Linked DNA regions of Homo sapiens: regions 1, 2, 3, 5 and 6 are each linked to region 4. Evidence: promoter capture Hi-C in human tissues and cell types (Jung and others, 2019). All regions are on one chromosome and are shown on one strand. Each heading gives the region's core, a stretch centred on a gene start or on the middle of the fragment in contact. The rest is flanking DNA. Distances are from core to core; before and after follow the strand shown.

The links. The method cuts DNA at HindIII sites, captures the fragments that hold promoters and counts their contacts. A contact is called where the count stands out against the background at its distance.
Region 1: a contact is called between a fragment that was not itself captured here and the fragment with the promoter of PRELID2 in region 4, in 2 of the 25 tissues and cell types used here (dorsolateral prefrontal cortex and mesenchymal stem cells).
Region 2: a fragment that was not itself captured here is called in contact with the fragment with the promoter of PRELID2 in region 4 in 1 of the 25 tissues and cell types used here (dorsolateral prefrontal cortex).
Region 3: a fragment that was not itself captured here is called in contact with the fragment with the promoter of PRELID2 in region 4 in 1 of the 25 tissues and cell types used here (dorsolateral prefrontal cortex).
Region 5: a fragment that was not itself captured here is called in contact with the fragment with the promoter of PRELID2 in region 4 in 2 of the 25 tissues and cell types used here (dorsolateral prefrontal cortex and lymphoblastoid cells).
Region 6: a contact is called between a fragment that was not itself captured here and the fragment with the promoter of PRELID2 in region 4, in 1 of the 25 tissues and cell types used here (dorsolateral prefrontal cortex).

What each region holds. Positions count from the first base shown.
Region 1 is chr5:144,220,658-144,223,891 of GRCh38, forward strand. The region is part of intron 3 of KCTD16 (potassium channel tetramerization domain containing 16); the gene reads left to right. Among named protein-coding and RNA genes, the nearest start is that of KCTD16, 51 kb to the left of the region's middle. The HindIII fragment of the contact is 5,124 bases long and covers 1-3,234 here.
Region 2 is chr5:144,384,432-144,387,683 of GRCh38, forward strand. All of the region lies in intron 3 of KCTD16 (potassium channel tetramerization domain containing 16), which reads left to right. Among named protein-coding and RNA genes, the nearest start is that of KCTD16, 220 kb to the left of the region's middle. The HindIII fragment of the contact is 3,150 bases long and covers 118-3,252 here.
Region 3 is chr5:144,301,578-144,304,615 of GRCh38, forward strand. The region is part of intron 3 of KCTD16 (potassium channel tetramerization domain containing 16); the gene reads left to right. Among named protein-coding and RNA genes, the nearest start is that of KCTD16, 130 kb to the left of the region's middle. The HindIII fragment of the contact is 5,492 bases long and covers 1-3,038 here.
Region 4 is chr5:145,834,092-145,837,190 of GRCh38, forward strand. PRELID2 (PRELI domain containing 2) reads right to left here and starts at 1,251. Exons shown (of 7, transcript NM_205846.3): 1 at 1,086-1,251. The coding sequence starts at 1,160. RefSeq lists a silencer at 1,443-1,562. The HindIII fragment of the contact is 8,273 bases long and covers 1-3,099 here.
Region 5 is chr5:144,240,239-144,243,635 of GRCh38, forward strand. All of the region lies in intron 3 of KCTD16 (potassium channel tetramerization domain containing 16), which reads left to right. Among named protein-coding and RNA genes, the nearest start is that of KCTD16, 71 kb to the left of the region's middle. The HindIII fragment of the contact is 5,226 bases long and covers 1-3,397 here.
Region 6 is chr5:144,486,721-144,489,994 of GRCh38, forward strand. No RefSeq gene overlaps it. Among named protein-coding and RNA genes, the nearest start is that of KCTD16, 320 kb to the left of the region's middle. RefSeq lists an enhancer at 933-1,434. The HindIII fragment of the contact is 6,518 bases long and covers 1-3,274 here.

The DNA of each region.
Region 1 (3,234 bases), core at 400-2,899, 1.6 Mb before region 4:
AGGGCCAGGTGCAGTGGCTCACGCCTGTAATCCCAGCACTTTGGGAGGCCGAGGCGGGTGGATCACTAGGTCAGGAGATCGAGACCATCCTGGCTAACACGGTGAAACCCCGTCTCTACTAAAAATATAAAAAATTAGCCGGGCGTGGTGGCGGGCACCTGTAGTCCCAGCTACCTGGGAGGCTGAGGCAGGAGAATGGCATGAACGCAGGAGACGGAGGTTGCAGTGAGCCGAGATCACGCCACTGCACTCCAGCCTGGGCGACAGAGCGAGACTACGTCTCAAAAAAAAAAAAGAAGAAGAAATGAGTGAAAGATAAAAAAGAAAAGGGCAACTTGAACCTTGAGAAAGAGGTTAAGAGATGTGGACAGGAGTGGGCAAAGTCACTTTGCTAAGTCAGATTCCTTAGGTACCTCCGTTGTATGACAGGAATGGTAGATCTATGTAACTGCATTGTAAGACACTGAGTAGCAAATAATACCACATATGTAAAGTGGCCATGTTGCTTATTAGATGTCTGCTATTAAGGCAGATTTTATATTAGCTTGAGTGAACATCTAGAGAATGTCTTAAGGATGCGTAATGAAGAAGAGAGACATTAAATCTGCTTTAGTATTATTATTATTATACTTTAAGTTCTGGGATACATGTGCAGAACGTGCAGGTTTGTTACATAGGTATACACATGCCATGGTGGTTTGCTGCACCCATCATCCCATCACCTACATTAGGTATTTCTCCTAATGTTATGACTCCCCTTGCCCCCCACCCCCTGACAGGCCCCAGTGTGTGATGATCCTTTCTCTGTGTCCATGTGTTCTCATTGTTCAACTCTCACTTATGAGTGAGAACATGCAGTGTTTGGTTTTCTGTTCTTGTGTTAGTTTGCTGAGAATGATGGTTTCCAGCTTCATCCGTGTCCCTGCAAAGGACATGAATTCATCCCTTTTTATGGCTGCATAGTATTCCATGGTGTATATGTGCCACATTTCTTTATCCAGTCTATTATTGATGGGCATTTGGGTTGGTTTGAAGTCTTTGCTATTGTGAACGGTACTGTAATAAACATACGTGTGCATGTGTCTTTAGAGTAGGATGATTTATAATCCTTTGGGTATATACCCAGTAATGGGATTGCTGCGTCAAATGGTATTTCTGGTTCTTGATCCTTGAGGAATCCCCACACTGTCTTCCACAATGGTTGAACTAATTTACACTCCCATCAACAGTGTAAAAGTGTTCCTATTTCTCCACATCCTCCCCAGCACCTGTTGTTTCCTGACTTTTTAATGATTGCCATTCTAACTGGCGTGAGATGGTATCTCATTGTGGTTTTGATTTGCATTTCTCTAATGACCAGTGATGATGAGCTTTTTTTCATATGTTTGTTGACCGCATAAATATCTTCTTTTGAGAAGTGTCTGTTCACCTTTGCCCATTTTTTGATGGGGTTGTTTGTTTTTTTCTTGTGAATTTTTTAAAGTTCTTTGTACATTCTGGGTATTAGCCTTTTGTCAATGGATAGATTGCAAAAATGTTCTCCCATTCTGTAGGTTGCCAGTTCTAACTGCTTTTTTTAGAGAGTTGCAAAAGCATTTATATATCAATGGTCAAAATAAAAAATAAGTATTTTAATGGGCAAATACATTTCTATTATTTAAATTATTATAAGACTAGCGATTAAAGAAAAAGTAATAATGTGGTGTGGGGTATTCAACATTAAAGTAAGATGCATAACAACTATAATCCAAGGGCCTGGAGCAGATAAATGAGGATATGCCATTGTAAGATTCCTATGTGCACAAAGCGGCATAATATCACTTAGAAGTAGACATACACTTCTCAAAAGAAGACATTTATGCCGCCAACAGACACATGAAAAAATGCTCATCATTGCTGGCCATCAGAGAAATGCAAATCAAAACCACAATGAGATACCATCTCACACCAGTTAGAATGGCGATCATTAAAAAGTCAGGAAACGACAGGTGCTGGAGAGGATGTGGAGAAATAGGAACACTTTTACACTGTTGGTGGGACTGTAAACTAGTTCAACCATTGTGGAAGACAGCGTAGCGATTCCTCAAATATCCAGAACTAGAAATACCATTTGACCCAGCCATCCCATTACTGGGTATATACCCAAAGGATTATAAATCATGCTGCTATAAAGACACATGCACACGTATGTTTACTGCGGCGCTGTTCACAATAGCAAAGACTTGGAACCAACCCAAATGTCCAACAATGATAGACTGGATTAAGAAAATGGGGCACATATACAGCATGGAACACTATGCAGCTGTAAAAAAGGATGAGTTCATGTCTTTTGTAGGGACATGGATGAAGCTGGAAACCATCATGCTCAGCAAACTATCGCAAGGACAAAAAAACCAAACACCGCATGTTCTCACTCATAGGTGGGAATTGAACAATGAGAACACTTGGACACAGGAAGGGGAACATCACACACCAGGGTCTGTTGTGGGGTCGGGGGAGCGGGGAGGGATAGCATTAGGAGATATACCTAATGTAAATGACGAGTTAATGGGTGCAGCACACCAACATGGCACATGTATACATATGTAACAAACCTGCACATTGTGCACACGTACCCTAGAACTTAAAGTATAATAAAAATAATATATGTATAAAAAAGTAGATAGTAGAAAGTTAAAAATATGTACTATAAATTCTAAAGACATCATTAAAGTAACAAAACACAGATATGTAGCTAATAAGCTAGTAAAGAAATAAAGAAGATAAAATGAAAAATAGGTTTTAATAGAATGGTAGCATCAGCCCTATATTTTTATACAGTTCAGTATCATACATCCAAGATATGGGTACATTTGGATCTTCCTGACTTGTGTAATAATTGTACCGTTATGGTGTGTAGATCCTAGGTCCTAGCCAAACAGATTAAAACAAATCCCTTATCCAAGTCCTGTAAACTGCAATGCTGGATGAAAGTGTGAAGTACATTTTTTGTTTTTTTTTTTGATCCTAGGCTGCGTACTTTATAATATCAACTTACTTTATAAAATTAGAGCATCCCGAGGTGGAGAGGGGAGGAATTCCATGATTTCATGATTCAGTTTCCTGACTTCGAGTTGCTAGGCTGTAAATGAAGTCCTAGGTAGAAGACAACATATAGAAGCTTTTAAAGTGGTGCTGTTTGGATTGAAGTGAGAATTAGGTAAGGTGTTCCTCCTTGTTCCCCATTTCTTCCTT
Region 2 (3,252 bases), core at 443-2,942, 1.4 Mb before region 4:
CTGAAATATACTAATACCTTACAATGAAGTTTTCAAAATAAATACATTTTTTCTAAGTAACTTTAACATAAAATTTTATTTATTTTTTCATTATAGCGAAATAAAATTTTATTTATTATAACATTGTTTTATTACATCTTCCAAAGTACATTACCTATTTTGCTACCATTTTAAAACAAAATATAGTAAACATAATTTAACCTCTTTCTGATGACTCAAGATAAATTTTACAAATATTCTATTGTTCCGTATTCATCATTAATGTTTGCACTATTATTTCTTTAATGTAGAGACCAAATGCTACAAAACAAATGAACTGTTGTGGTAATATTGGACAATTTTTAGGGTCTTATTTCTGGCTTCTAGCTTTTGTTTCCTAATGATGGTCACTTGGCTATTCTTTAAAGTTTTAGGATGGATAAGTAGGTAATTAAGAGTATAAAATAGCATGTAAGGAAGAGTCAATATAATCTGTAGGATGACCCCTTTCATGTAATGAAGTGCATACATTTTGTGATATTTATTTTGGATGTTTAGAAGCTCGTTCCCTTTTGGACTCACTGTTGGAAGTCTGACATTCAAATAAGTGGGACATTATGGCCTGTATTTTGGCTAAAGGGGATAATGTCTGCAGCTGGAATAAACAATCAGCAAAGTCATAAATCATAATTTCCTTCACACTTCATTGTAAGATAATAATATATGAGCGAAAACTATTTTCCTCTATTATAGCTGTCACTAAAGGAAAATTTCCATTCAGGCTATAACCTCTCAATAAAATATAAGGCACAAAAATTCAGAAAAATATATTTTTGTTTACTCGTAGATGCTGATGACTTCAGTGAAGATAGCATTGTTGCATAATGTCCACAAATCATTGATAATAAAAATATAACCAAGAACATGACATATGCATTTGTTACTTGTATTTTTATATTTAATTTTAAATAGTCTTCAGTAACATGCTTGGGGCCAAGCCATGGGGATTTATTTTTCATGTCCTTCACATCCACTTCTACTTCTTCTGAGTGGTTTCTTCATTGACAGTGGGTGGAAGGGACCAAATATGGACCATATTTCTTTTTCACATGAAATATTTTCCCCCAGATGTTGCTTCATTGTCACTCCATTACTATAGGACAATTTTCTTTGCTTCCCCTTCTCACAATAGAAAATATGGCCACTATAAGCTTTCAAGTTCATGTATTACTTGTCCAGCCATCTGGAAAGACTGAGTCAACTCTTGGTTCCAATCCCAAATTTGCAAAAATGTATATGTCTGCCTCTGGACCAATAAACTGCTTTGTAAGTAGGGCTCATGCTGCACAGATATGTTGGTCCCATTCAAATCATTTAAGAGTATGTGTGTCTTGTGGGGAGGAGGGGTGGTCCCTTAAAAAAAGAAGTGGTTCCTTACCACTTCCTTTTTGGCCTAACAGGACCTAATATTAACGTCTATTTTTAAAAGGCATCAAGATTGCCTTTTAAAAGTTTCACATGCCATCTACTCTTCATTAAAAATATTCATGGTAGAGAGTGAGGCTGAGCTATCTAGTAATCATTGCTTGGGATTTAAAATATTGTTCTTATGTTTTTCATGTAAGCTTGTTGCCACTCAGAGATATTATTTCCAGAAATGTGTAAAGACAGGATATGATAAAACAGATACGTGTATTAGATTGGCAGAAAAACTAAGTTAAGAGCAAGGCAAATAATCTTTAATCTCTTCTTTTCTACAGAGCTCAATAACTATTGACTTGCCCTCTCAGTTGATTGGAAAGGGCCCTCTGTTGTGAACTGAGTGTAGCTAGGGTGTGTACTTCATGCCTTCCGAATGGCAGCTCCATCACTAAAGCATCCCAGTTGCACAGTAACCAATTCCAGGGAACCCCAAATACTTTCATAAAGTTAGTAGCAAGAGGAGTTTCTTGAGATTTCTAGGCATTGTCAAAATACTGATGATTGGTCATTTAAGACTGGTATATTTTTTAGGTAGTTATTGACCACTCTATGGGTAGTACTGTGGATAGTACTGTGGTACTATGGTCACATTTGTTCTCTCTTTCTCTCTCTTTCATTTGTACAGTTCCTACTTTAGACTCTGTATATGCTCATGACTGTGCAGTCCATTGTAAATACTCAATACATATTTACTAAGTGAACAAATATGTATGTCTGCAATGACAGGGAACACATTTCCATCTTTTTATATTCCCTGAATTTCTTAGCTTAATGCACTGCTTATAAGAGACGCTTAGTTAATGCATGTAGGTGAAGAAAAAAAGAATGAAAATTGGCACATTCCAGAGTGCTTTGATGGTTTATTTGGTAAAACAAAAAAACAAACAAAACAAAAAAAACAGCCATTCCTCAAAGACTCAGAACTAACAATAACAACTCAGGCTCCATCAGTCTGAATGTGCTAATGCACATGAGAGTACTTGGTAAGCTTTAAAGTGGTATTATTGTTGTTGTAAAAGACAACTCCAGGCTCACCCAACTAAAATAGCTTACATCTGTAGAGCCCTTTACCAATTACAAAGCACTTTTTTTTTTTGAGACACAATCCTCCTCTGTTGGGGTACAGTGCAGTGGCTGGTTCATGGCTCACTGCAGCCTCAGTCTCCCAGGCTCAAGAGATCCTCCCACCCCAGCTTCCCAAGTAGCTGTGACTACAGGCATGCGCCACCTCACCAGGCTAATTTAATTTTTTTTTTTTTTTTTTTTTGAGAGACAGAGTCTCACTTTGTTGCCGAGGCTGCTCTTGAACTCCTGGGCTCAAGTGATCTTCTGCTTCAGACTCCCAAAATGTTGGGATTACAGGCATGAGCCACTGTGCCCGACCCAAAGCACTTTCATGTATAGTGTCTTTATCATTTTCTCACAACCTCATGGTGGTGGTATTTTTGTTTTCTCCATTTTATAGATGAAGGAGCTCCTTTTTTGAGAAAAAATAAGTCATTCAAGGTCACATATTTAATAGTGAAGTCAAAGTTCAAGCTCTGGTTTTCTGAACCTAAGCCTGAGTTCCTTCCTCCACACTAGAACTAATACCCAAGGGTAATAATTTTTCATTGTAAGGAGTAATGATGCTTCTCAACTTACTTAAAGCATAAAGAAAGAATCAGGTACTCTTTTGCTTTCCTGGAAAAGAAATTAACCACCCTCTAAGTGTTGGAGTTGTGCATAAGCCCCAGGCTAGGCAGGGAGGTCTCTATTGAGATCTGAGGGATTAGGGAACTCAGGAGTGTG
Region 3 (3,038 bases), core at 232-2,731, 1.5 Mb before region 4:
TTGCCTTAAGAATGGATTAAGAATCCATCTCTACTTTAAAAATTCACTTGCACAATGCCGTCTCGACATAGTGAACAGGATATCTTTGGTAACGCTCTGTCATTTTTAACAACATGGAAATTACCACTTTGCTAATCAACCCATGAACAAAAAAGTGTCTTGATGCTTCCCTTAGCAACCAAGTGCTCAGCAGTTTGCCCATCCAAAATCTTGTATTTTTGGTTCTTCAACATAGTAGCTTTTGATGTTTTAGATACTTTTAGGATTCATGAAAGTGGAAACAAGAAAATTCAGAAGAAGAATTTTATTTCATGTTTATTTTATTTTATTGTTTCTAATGATAATGACAGATTTCAGTTATTGAATACTTATTCTGTGGCAGTCACTCTTCTAAATAGTTTTGGGATATTTTCTTTTTTAAATTTTACGCAAAATTAAGTAAGTTTTATGTAAAAATTAGGTTTTATTACTATCCCCTTTTAAAAATGAGAAGATTGTGGTGAAGATAGTTTAAGTGACTTGCCCAAGAGCAAATAGCTAGAGGCAGTAGAGCTTCAAACCCAGCTTTTCTGACCCCAGAGCACATTCATAGGTGATCATTATAAAAAGTGAAGAGACAGGCAGGTTTAGCACTGCACAGTGGTCAAGTGTCTTCAAGCTTAATAGTATCACTTTATGAATTTCAAAGTACTCTGGGCAGGTGTCAGGGAGAAGAAAAAAATGAAAAGAAACAAAAGGAGAAAGAGAAATAAGTTTAAAACAAGAATATATGTTGTCACAGTAAGTGTGTAATAAATATTTTTGAATGAAGTGAAATATGAAAGACAAAAACAAAGGAGGATTTTATGGCAGGTGGTAGAAGATGGTGTTCAACCATGACTTTGGGTTCTATCTTTGGTACAGAAGAACTACAGACTTCAAGTATGATTGCTTTTCTAGGTTGCAGCTTCACTCATCCCTGGCTATATCTAGACTTGTTAACAAATTTATAAATCTTCACCCACTGATTTTTCTTTCTGGTTAGAATCAGCCCAAATGACTTTTAGCTTCCTGAATACTTATTATCGTACGTCAAATACAGTATCAAAGAAAGAATAACTTAACTGTAAAACACCCTGTTTTTCTGATTCTAGCTCTGACATTCAACATCCTTGGAAAAATCAGTTGCTCTAGTGTATAGAATGTTTTCAAATTGCATGAGAGATTATGCCACAGTTGTATGTGATGAAAACAGTTTTTAATAATTTGATATGGACAGAATGATTAAAAAGCCCACTTGGCCTCTTCTTTCCTCATTGTTCTGTCTCTTTAAACTTGGATCCCTTTGGGTTGGCTGTAAGCAGTGGAAAAGAAATGCAGCCTATAGAATGAGCAGCAGGATATTGTGGAATATGGAAATCATTTCTATATTGTACAGGGAAATCTAATTACCTCTATCGATCATTCATCCAGTCTTTCCTCTCTTCTGTTTTGTTGAGTGTTTGGTTGTATAATTGACATTATTAGAGCGTTAGTGCCTCCTTTCAAAAGGCCTGTGGTTTGCTGGCCATTAGCAATCTTGATAGACGTGTCAAGGACAGAAGACCTCCAAATGCAGTCAAATTTTCTTTACACAGTAGGGTGGCTGGCTGTCTCTAGTTAACTCATGTTTTCTGCAAGTGTTATTAGAATTATATCACTTCATATGCAAGCCCTCTATGTTTCAGCTGACTCTTAATTACCTAAGCTGGGGAAGTGATTCTTTTTCTAGACTTAGGAACAAAGATGAATAGCTTTATAGGCTTGTGAGATCTCTGTAAAATCTTTTATGATTTGTTAAAGATCAAGTACAGCACTTTTAAGATTCTTTAGGACCTTGAGGTTGGGCTGGGTTGTTCAGAGATGGAAATAGAACCCTTGGCTTTTGTGTGGCAAGAGCAATGGAAATGACCAAAGGTTCAGTCTCTTGTCAAAAGTTTCAAACATGATTAAGCTTTTTGTGCTCATTATCTCAGAGTGACCTGCACCTGTTTAGTTGTTATCAGAAATATCATTTAAAACATCTAAAACTCTTCATTATCAACTCTTTATTTTTCAGGCCACTATAAGGAAACAACAAATATGATAATGCAAGGACTAGGTGGGGGTGGGAAATGAGGAGATCCAGGTTGGGGCTCAGGCTCTCCAGTAAGTGGCTCTGTGAGGCTGGGGAGGTCATTTCTCCTCTCCTGCCTTCACCTTCTGTTTCATAAGTTGGTTGGATTTGGGAGTTCAAACTTAAATGCCATTAGAGGCCTGGAAAAGAGTTTAAGACAAAAGACAGGAATTAGTTCTGTGGTCATTGGAGAGTGCATATCAACCTGGCCTATAGATGTCACAGCCTTAAACACACTTAAAGATATCCTGGCACAGAATATACATCTATGACACTTTTTGGCCCATAATTGCCATTTTACCACTCCCGTTTATATAATCTAAACTCCTCCCCTTCTTTAGGTATACATTTTCTGGCTCTACAAAAATATTCAAATAAAAAGAGGAAATGAAAGACCTAAAAGAAATGTCTTATAGTAAAGAAAAAAGAAACAAGTAAATCATGTGAGGATAAAAATTCACTTATTTTAGATAGAATAAAAAAAGACCAGGGTGTCATAGTTAAATCCAAGTTGACTGCGATGAGCCAGTGTGGGTAATAGTGCTGTGGGGAAAGGAAAGGACAGTGTGATCCTGAAGTGCAGCATGAAGCACATGTGACATAGCAGCAATAAGTCATCTTTCTGCTGCACTTAGCTTTAGTCTGACTCTCATTCCAGGGGAGTCCAGATGTGGTCAGTGGCCCTTAAAAGGGATATGAAGAATCTGGGAAGCACCTAGAGGTTAAGGGAATGGGAAATTGTTTCTTCGGAGGAAAGCCTAAAAGAATTTGAATTGATCAGCCTGGAGAAGAGAAGGAAAGTATTTGGCTTAATTACGCTTCACAGACAGGTTGCATTTTTTCATTGAGGGTATAAAGCAGTTTCCTTTCTGTCTGTGAGTAAAAACATTATATGGAAGAAGTG
Region 4 (3,099 bases), core at 1-2,500:
TCAGTATTGAGGAAGAGTTCATTATCTGTATTGAAATCGGTTGTAGTAATACAAACAACAATAACATTTTAGAGCCCTAACTAAACATCAGTAGCAGTGAGAAAAAGAAAAATAGCTCAGAGCAGATTGTGTGAGTTACAGTGAAATATGCAAAATCAATCAAGCCCAGAGAGACAAGAGTATAGGACTTTAGTGGTCCCCTCCTCACCCAACCCATTCCTGGGAGCAACTGGTTAAAGGCATTTTGTTCCTGACCAGCTGCCTTACCCATTATCTTCAAGTTCCTGGAATTTGTGATACAAAGAACAATGTACAGACAATCAATAGTTTATGTTATTTTAATATAAATTCTTGGTAAACAACTTAGGAAGTGCTTCTTATTCTCCTTTAAAAACCCACTTTCGACTTCTGCTCATCAGAATGTATACTCAGGGCACCTTCACTCCCAGGATGCAGCCCTCAAACTTGGCTCGAATGAACTCTCTTTTTATATTGATTTTGCCTCAGTTTCTTCATTTAGGTCACAACTGTGCTAAGCACTTTACACAAGTTACCTCATTTGGATCCTCACAACAACTCTATGAGTCGGTACTATTATTTTCCCCATTTTACAGATTAGCAAACTAAGGCACAAAGAGAGTAAGCAACCTGCACGATGTCCCACAGCTGTTTAATAAGGAGCAGCGGATGGGGCAGCAGAACCATCATGCTGAGTAAACCAGGATGACTGCCCAATGGCCTCCCCTCGCTTTTAAGGGGTCAGTGATGAACCGGAAAGCTCCACACGTCGGTCATCTGCAACTCCACGGAGCTCACGAGCTGGGATTCCCGGAGGCTCTTCCTAAAAGGAAAGCCTCTTCTTTCAGCTGGGGCAGGTGTGAACGTGATGCCAAGCACGGCCCCTTTTCCCGCTCCCTGTAAAGGGAGTCTTCGAGGAAATCCCTCTCGACCCACACATCCCTGAAGCAAAGCCCGCAGCTGGAAAGAGACACTGGCGGTGCCAGCTTCCGCGTGGATGAAGGAGAGGAGAGAGGGGCAAGCAGCGGAGGCAGCGCGGGATACGGAAGGTGGAAGCGGGGCGGTACCTTTCGGAGAAAGCTGGCGACCACCTGCTCGAAGGGGTACTTGTACACCTGGTGCACATCCACCGAGACCCCCATCCCCGCGCGCCGCGGGCCCCGCGCACCGGCCACGCCTCCGCGAGCTCAGAGCTGCCCAGGGCTCCGCAGAGGCCCGGAGGCGCCCACACTCGGACAGCCACATGGGCGTGGCCTTTTTCCTCCGCTTTTCAAACTTTCGAAACTTTATTGGCCACTCGGAGAAACGCGCAGTCGGCCACGCCCACGCCCCTACTGCCAGAGTCCGGGGCCTGGGGTTACAGAGCGCGGGAGGCGCTGGAGCGCTCCCAGAGCACCCGGGGCCCCGCGGTCTCCACGCTGGCGGCGCCAGAGCGGCCCTGGTGCCCTCCCGCGGCCGCGCCTGCCGAGAAAAGCTTCTCTGCCTGGGAGCCATCACGCCCCGCCCCAGGAAACCTGGACCTTGGGCTTATGCGTTTATGGTATCACCGCCTGGAGTCACAGAATAAGCCGTGGTTGGCAGCACGGGAAAAAAGTATTAATAAGGAAGGCCTGGTGTGACAAAGGCCAGCATTACTCATGCCACCAGGCAGCTGCCTCTGAGGCTTGGGTTTGGGCCTCGTGTAAGGTAAAGATTGCCTCGGGAATAAGAACCGCGTTTTAGTGCACCAAAACCTGCAGGTAAGTTCCTTTGCTCGCTAAGGTTAAACACCACGGAGCAAGGAACTAGAGGATACAAAAGAGTTGCGAGTATTATTATTTACTGCAACCAACAGATGTTAGGAGAACCAGCACGTTAATCCGTGTATTCAGCACGGTTCTGAGGCCTCCTATGCCCCAGCGCTGTAGTGGGCACTGCGGATTCCGCAGGGAGGAAACACCAGCTCTGCTGATGAGCCGGCTGATTTCACACCCAATCAACAAGCTGGGAAAATAAAAACAATAATCGGTTAAAGTGACACGGGCGCGGACATGATTTTAGTGAGGGTGATTATGGAGGGTCTCTGAGGTGATGACTTTTACGATTTTGCCATCTCGCTCGCCCCTGCCATACGCAGTCACACTGGTCTGGCAAAACCCTAGCCTTGTGTAAATCTAGGTCTCCTCTGACTGTCTCTACCCAAGCCACCAGAAGGGGCTGAAGGAAAATACACACCCACTGTGCATCTTTTAAGTTCATAACCACTAACCCTATGGCGCCTTTTAATGGTGCCAGACAAATACACTATGAAAGTACTGTATTTCTGGCTGGGTGCGGTGACTCACGCCTGTAATCCCAGCACTTTGGGAGGCCAAGGTGGGCGGATCGCCTGAGGTCCGGAGTTCCAGACCAGCCTGGCCAACATGGTGAAACCCTGTCCCTACTAAAAATACAAAAATTAGCCAGGCGTGATGGCGGGCGCCTGTAGTCCCAGCTACTCCGGAGGCTGAGGCAGGAGAATCGCTTGAACCCGGGAGACGGAGGTTGCAGTGAGCAGAGCTCGCCCATTGCACTCCAGCCTAGGCGACAAGAGCAAGACTCCATCTCAAAAAAAAAAAAAAAAGAGAGTACTGAATTTCTCTAATCCACTTACTCTCCCGCATTCCTCCACACCTCTGACACCTTTGTTCCCAGCCTTATACTCCAGTCATTACCTTACTTCCATTTTCACTTAGTCAATAGGTCACATCGCTCTGCCACCTCTCTACCCACCAGACCAAATGCCTTGCCTTCACTCTTGTTCCTGTGGGTGAACTGTCAGCACTTTGTTTTAGCACCAGTGTCTCCATTTGTCCACTGAATCCTGAGGTGAACTGAAAAATGTTTAACAAATAGCTGTCCTTTAAAGTATAAATCAAGCAAGGCCCTGATTTCCAAAGGTTGCTGATTCCTGTGGTGTAAATACTCCTACCATGTTTAAAGATGCCAACTCGATGTCACTAAACACAAGTTGGGGATTTAGCAACATGGAGTTGAGTGAGGAGTGGGAGTTGGGGAGGGAAGCACAGAAGCACACCATCACATAGTATTTCCACCACCCAC
Region 5 (3,397 bases), core at 45-2,544, 1.6 Mb before region 4:
AATGAGTATCTGGAATCTCCTGAGGAATCAGTCAGCAATTATGAAACCTCCCGATATCTCTTTAAATTCGAATTGTGCTTCCTTCTTTCATTCCTTCTTCTTTCTCTTCTTCATTCCTTTCTTTCTTCATTTCAGTGTGTATTTTTTCTTTGTTTTTTTACTTTTTAAAATTTTGAGATAATGTAAGTCTAACAGAAGAGTTGAAAAAATAGTACAGAGTCCCTGTATTACCCTTCATCCAGCCTCTTCTTTTGTTAATATTTTGTACAACCAGAGGACTTAGTAAAACTGAGAAGTTAAATCTCAGTATAATACATTAGCTAAAGTATACAACTTAACTTGATTTTCACAAATGTTTCCGCTAATATTCTCTTTCTGTTAGAAAGTCCTGTCAATTTTTCCCACATTGCATTTAATCCTCACGTCTCCTTAGTCTCTCCTCCCATCTGTGAAAGTCCCCCAGTATTTTCTTATCTCTCAGGACCTTGACACTTCTGAAGACTATTGGTTAGTTATTTTTTCCAATGTCTTCCAATCTGGGTTTTTCTGATGTCTTCTTAAGATTATATTGAGATTATGAATTATTGAACAAGATACCAGGGAGGCGGTTTGCTCTTCTCAGTGCTTCATACCAGGGGTACTTGATGACAATGTATGGTTTTGAAACATCCTTCAATGCTCTTAGATTGTTTAGGCTGGTGAGGAGATACAAGAAGTATATCTCTGAAGTGAGCAAGGATGGGATCGAGACACCAGGACTGAAGAGGGAGGTGGCAAGCTCTCCTCCCTGTATTATATCTTTCATGCTTGGAAGCTACTACAATGTAGAACAGGGCAGAATTCTTCTATGAAATCATGCATGGTGCTTGAGGTCCTCCTCTTAACTCTTAAACTCACTCGAAGTGTCTTGAGCTTTAGTCTGAATCTGATTTTCTGCTTCTATACCCTGGGAATAATGACACTGGAAAGAAGGGCACTACGTGAGTAAAAAACACTCCAAGTAATGCAATTCCTGACTTTACTCATGTTCTCAAAACATTTTTCAGAAGCATTGAAAAATAATGTTGAAAACACAGCTTTCATGATGGGTGAGGTTGAAAGTTTACATTGAAAGCACTCATCATGTTTGGGAATAATAAAACATTGTAGTAGAGTCACTCTTCTTCTCACAAGACCCTTTGGATTTTACATAGAATGTAGACTGGAAATTGCAATCAGATCAATTAAAGGCACAATATTTTATATTATTGCCTTAGTCACTGACTTCGATGGATATTTTAATTGTATTCAAGGAGGCAAACAAGTCTTGCATGTGAATAAATATGAAAGGATTGTAAGTATAAAGACTTTATTGCTATCACTCCCCTGTTGAATACAGTGATTTTCTGGTTACCTGATCTGAAATGAATTGTAAGTAAGCATTAGGAGAGAGCACAATGCAGTAATTCAGGGCACCATATTTTGCCTATGAAGCATAAATATTTGAACATTTGCATTATCATTTCTGAATGAGTGGATTAGTGGCTATGAAAAATTAACTCATGTTCTTTCAAGTATGATTGAAATATTACATTCAATCTTAACCCCCTAGGAAAAAACAACACAAATCCCTGTGTTTCATGAAATGTGAAAAGAATCTCATTTCAATATCTTGCTTCATTTAACTGGTGCCACATCTATGATACAAAATGGCAACCATGGTGTAGCTAAGAATTGAAGACTCCCGTTCTGTTCTTGAAAGGAATAGTGCACAAGTGTACCCTACTTTACTCACTTTCTCTGAAAGTTGTTTGTAAGTTGAAATTTATAAATTCAGAAGCAAAGCTGACAACTGAAAGAGGCTTAATTTTATTTTATTTTTTTTGAAGGGGAAGCTCTTTTTGCAATGTTTTGTTTTTAAGCTTATTATTTTTAAGTATGAAAAGATGTTAAAGCAAGACACATTGTTTGGATTTTTAAGTCCAAGAACTCCTTAATTATCTAGGGGCCATGTACTGACATTCTAGTGTACAGACAGAGGTCATGTTAGTCTTGTCTATAAAAAGATGTACTTCTTAGCAAGTGTCTTTTTGTAGAAAATGATAAGCATTTCACCATATGGTAATAAAATATTATTATTACTATTATTGGATAAATAACACAAACCATAGAAAATTATATACTTTTTCCCTATGTATAACACCTTTACCAAGTTCCCAACTAATATGTTATTGTTGTCACATATTTTATTCTATGTGCATTTTATATCTCACCAGACAATATAATTCATACAGTCAATACTAATTAATGTATTAATATTGGTATGTTATTGTCTTAGTCCATTTTGTGTTGCTATAAAGAAATACTTAAGCCTGGGTAATTTATACAGACAAAAAGGTGTATTTTGCTCATGATTTGGCTGGTTGGAAAGTTTATGATTGGGTATATGCATTGGATGAGGGCTTCAGGCTGCCTCTACTCATGGCTGAAGGTAAAGGAGAGCTGATGTGTGTAGAGATTGCATGGTCATAGAGGAAGCAAGGGGAGGAGGAGGCTCCAGGCTCTTTTTACAACTAGGAACAAATAGAACCAGAACTCACTTAAGCCCAAGGAGAGGCATTAATCTATTCATGAGGGATCTAACCCCATGACCTAAGACCTCCCATTGGGCCCATCTCTAATATTGGGGATCAAACGTGAGGTTTGGAAGGGATAAATATCTAAATCATAGCAATTATTATTAACTGAAGTCCATAATGTATTCAGGTTTAGTTTTTACCTACTGACCTTTTCCTGTTTCAAGATTCCATCTGGGATAACATATTACATTTAATATTTTATTTCCTTAGGCTCCTTTGGCTGATGTTTTCTCATAATTAGACTAGGGTTATGGGTATTTGGGAGGAAGACCATAGATGTAAAGTGTCATTTTCATCACATCATATCAAGGGTACACATTATTAATGTGACTTATTACTTTTGATGTGGATCTTGATTATTACTTTTGATGTGGATCTTGATTATTTGATTGAGATAGTGGCTGTCATGTTTCTCCAGTATAAAGTTACTCTTTCTTTCTCTTTTTCATACTGTACTCTTTCAGAAGAAGTCACTATGTGCAGTCCACACCTAAGGAGAGGGAAGTTGTGCTCCTCCTCAAGGGGAGAATATCAGCATAAATTATTTGGAATTCTATTATCTCTTTGTATGTGGTAAAATACTCTATGCCTGATGACCTTATTATTTGGATCCCATGTGTATTTGTTTATGTTGTGTATCTGTTCTATCTTTTTGTTATCCTTTTTTCTTTTCTCTTCTTCTGTGTGGCTTATTTCTACTAAATCCCAGACATTTATTTGAAAAAACTTCAGAGTAAAGTGAAGTCTAAGATGATTTTCCTCCACAGAGGATTTATTTT
Region 6 (3,274 bases), core at 10-2,509, 1.3 Mb before region 4:
TGAGATAACAGTTACAGCTTTGTCTTGAGAAACTATTCTAAAGTCACAATATCCATACTGCATGGACCCAAAGTAAAAAGTCCCACAAGGTACAGAAGGCCAAGCAGGAGAAGGTGAGGATCTAGTCTACAGTAATCCTCCTTAAAACTCTGTTACCACTGAAGTCACTTAGGAATGAGATAGTCTATTTTGCCTCAATAAGCTGATCCTTAGCAATAGTGGCTACAAGGATGCTGTACCGTGCTGAATTTCAGTCCACAAGAGGGATGGAAGCTTAGACAGACTGAAGTGATGGAGGGGTTTGGAGAAAAAGTTTTCCCATGAATTCTTTTGTGGAAAGCTGTGGGCTTTCCTCTGAAAACTTGAGAGAGAGAAAGCAACTGTGATGGAGATTTGTGAAGTTAATGACCTCCAAAGCCTTAGAAATTGCTTAAATAGAGCCAAAACTTCATTAAATTTAGGCACAGGGAAAGTCTATGCCTCCACTGTTCCAGAATGACATAGACAAGTAAAGAACCAACATTAAGAGAAAAAGTTGGCTGCAGACTTACAGAATGAACAGCAGGAAGGAATTTATTTGTCACCATTGTTCTGCCCAGAACAGCAGCTAGTTTCCCCCAAAAATCAAGGGTCCTGAGAACACTCCCTAAAGATTCTGCGATGTGGGTGGTGAGGACACAAGGGGGCTCTCTCTACTTGCTGGGGAGCATGGGTGGAAAAAGGGTGTATGGGGAGCCCAGGAAAGCACTGGTAGTAGATCAGGAGAAAGACTCCTCTTGAGATCTCTGGAGAGATTTGGGGAGATTTGTACACAGCCACTGATCAAAAACTCACCCTTCTGATAAATTGAATTGAACAGGACTTGATCAGAAGGATCATAATTTTTGCAACGAGGACAGTGAAAAAGGAAAAAATACGAACTGCTTAGACAATACTTCTTCCCTCCAATTTCAACCCAAAGGCAGCATTCCTTCCCATGACTAAAAAAATATTCAGAGCCCACATCAATCTTGTCCCAAATGGCAGCTGCCACTGAAACAGGTCATGATAAGTCTTCATTTCAATAAGGGGATGATAAAAACCCTTAGCCAGGCAGAGCAGCTTCAGCCTTCAGTAAGCCAGCCTCATGTTGCAGAGCTTAAAAAAATCAATAGGTCAGCAACAAAGGCCCAGGAGGAGGGCAGGGTTTTCAAATGCTAAGATTGCCAAAGAGCTCCAGGCACACCCCATAAACCCCTTGCTTATTCTTATTACCATGTTATGAAAGCACCAAAAATAAATTCTGAGGACTAAACTCAGTCTTTGACTTGTTTTTCTCTTTCTTCTGACTCACCATGTGAGTCTTGCTATCTTTAGGGTAGCAAGAAACAAAAACACCCTACATAACTGGAAGATAGCTAGTATATTGAAATGGTATTGCTCTTCCTCTGTGGATAGGTCTGAGTTCAAACATGCTCTTCAAGGCTGTCTGCTTCCTGATGGATATGCAGCAATTAAATAGGATGTCTCCAAGAGACAAAATCACAGACACATAGGTACCTTTGATACAAATAAAGCTTTTCTCCTCTCCATCCTCCCTGAATGTTCTACTTTTTTTCTATACATTTCTTTCCCTCTCTTTTTATTCTGTTTGTTCTTCACGCGTCTGGAGTATAGGGTAAACATATTTAATAAATCACAGCATCCTTTATCTAACAGTGCCCCTTTCCCCCACCATACGCTTTCCTTGAAGCCTCAATTTCTTCATCTAGTCTGTGATTGGGGACATTGAAGGAGATATATTTTTTGCACCATTTTGCCATCCCTTTCTCAACTGATTTTTACCTCAGCTCTGGCTGGTCTCCTATTTGAAGGAAGAGGTGGAGGTGGGGAGGATTTGGTGGGTCCCAAATATTGACCGTTTTAGATTGTCTTTGAGAGAAAACAGCAAGTCTATCTAGGAGGAAATGAAAGACAAGGAGAAGGTGAGTTGAATGCTGGTGGACTGTGGTCTGTGGTCCTAAAGCTATTGCAAATGGGTGAGCTACCTTAACTGTTTCTTCCCTGGGGATGAAGTGGGAACCCAAGACCTTTCCCTGCTAATTTCCACATATGCCCCAGTTTAATGACTCATTTTCTGCCTTAACCAGAGCTTGCACCCTTTGCTCCAGAAAGTCCAGCATGAATTTCTGTTTTGTCTTTAACATGGATAGACGGGAAGGGATTGGAAATGGTGAGAAAGTAGTGAACTTATTGGAGTTAGACAGAGAAGCCACACAGTTAGCAGCAAATCATTCTTTCTCCCTTTGCCCCTGGGAAAGAGTGGCCCTTAGTACCTAGAAATAATAGACTGTCAGTTTGTTTGTTTTTTTTTCATTAAGGAGATGGATGTCCTGGTCTCTCTGTCACCTGATATTAACAAATGTGAGAGAGTGTGAGGAGGGAAAAAGATGTTAATAATAATCAGTTTTGTGTACCTGAGGCATAAGAGATTTTTTTCCTGATAGAGTAAATGAATAACATGGTAATTAACTTGATCTACTCTTTAGGGAGCTGCTACCTGCAGGTCTCTTTGCAAAGCCCAGGCTTTATGCTCATAGTGCAATGATGTTCACAATGTCCTCTGGCACCTTGAGGTTTGCAGTGTGTATTCTCATTCATCTATAGTTTCTGAAAGCTGAAGCAACAGTTGGGGACTTAGAAAGGACTGCATCATTTTCCTCTTAGTTATTTTCTATAACATAACTTCTCGTAGGTCTGTACAACTATAGAATATCTTACATTGCTATTTATGATGCTTTGAGGAAGTGCTGGAAATATAGCAGATTAAAAATTAGCCAAAATAATATACAAACATGTTAATATCAGCTGTTTCCCATATTTTGTGGTACTCTTTTTTTAATAAGTAAATAGCAACCAAAGACAAAAACATACAAGGAAAAAGGGTGTCTTCTTGTTTGAATAGGAAAAATTGATTGTTTACTGTTTTATGACATACAGCCTATACAAATCCCATCCTTTTAGTCTCAAGATTGTGAAAACAACAAAACAGAAAAAGGTCTCCAAAGTACACAAGACCCAGATTCAAGGATTCCTATATGTATGCCAACAACCTTAAGGGAAGAGCTGGAGAAAGTCTCAACATAAATACAGAGCTCTGATGATATATGTTTTTAAAGCCTGGGAAACAGAGTAAAATGACAAGAGGTAAAACAATTATATATCCTACAGGTACAAAATTTTAGTACATTTTTTATAGATCCAACTTCATTGATACAATCTCTTGATTTTTTCT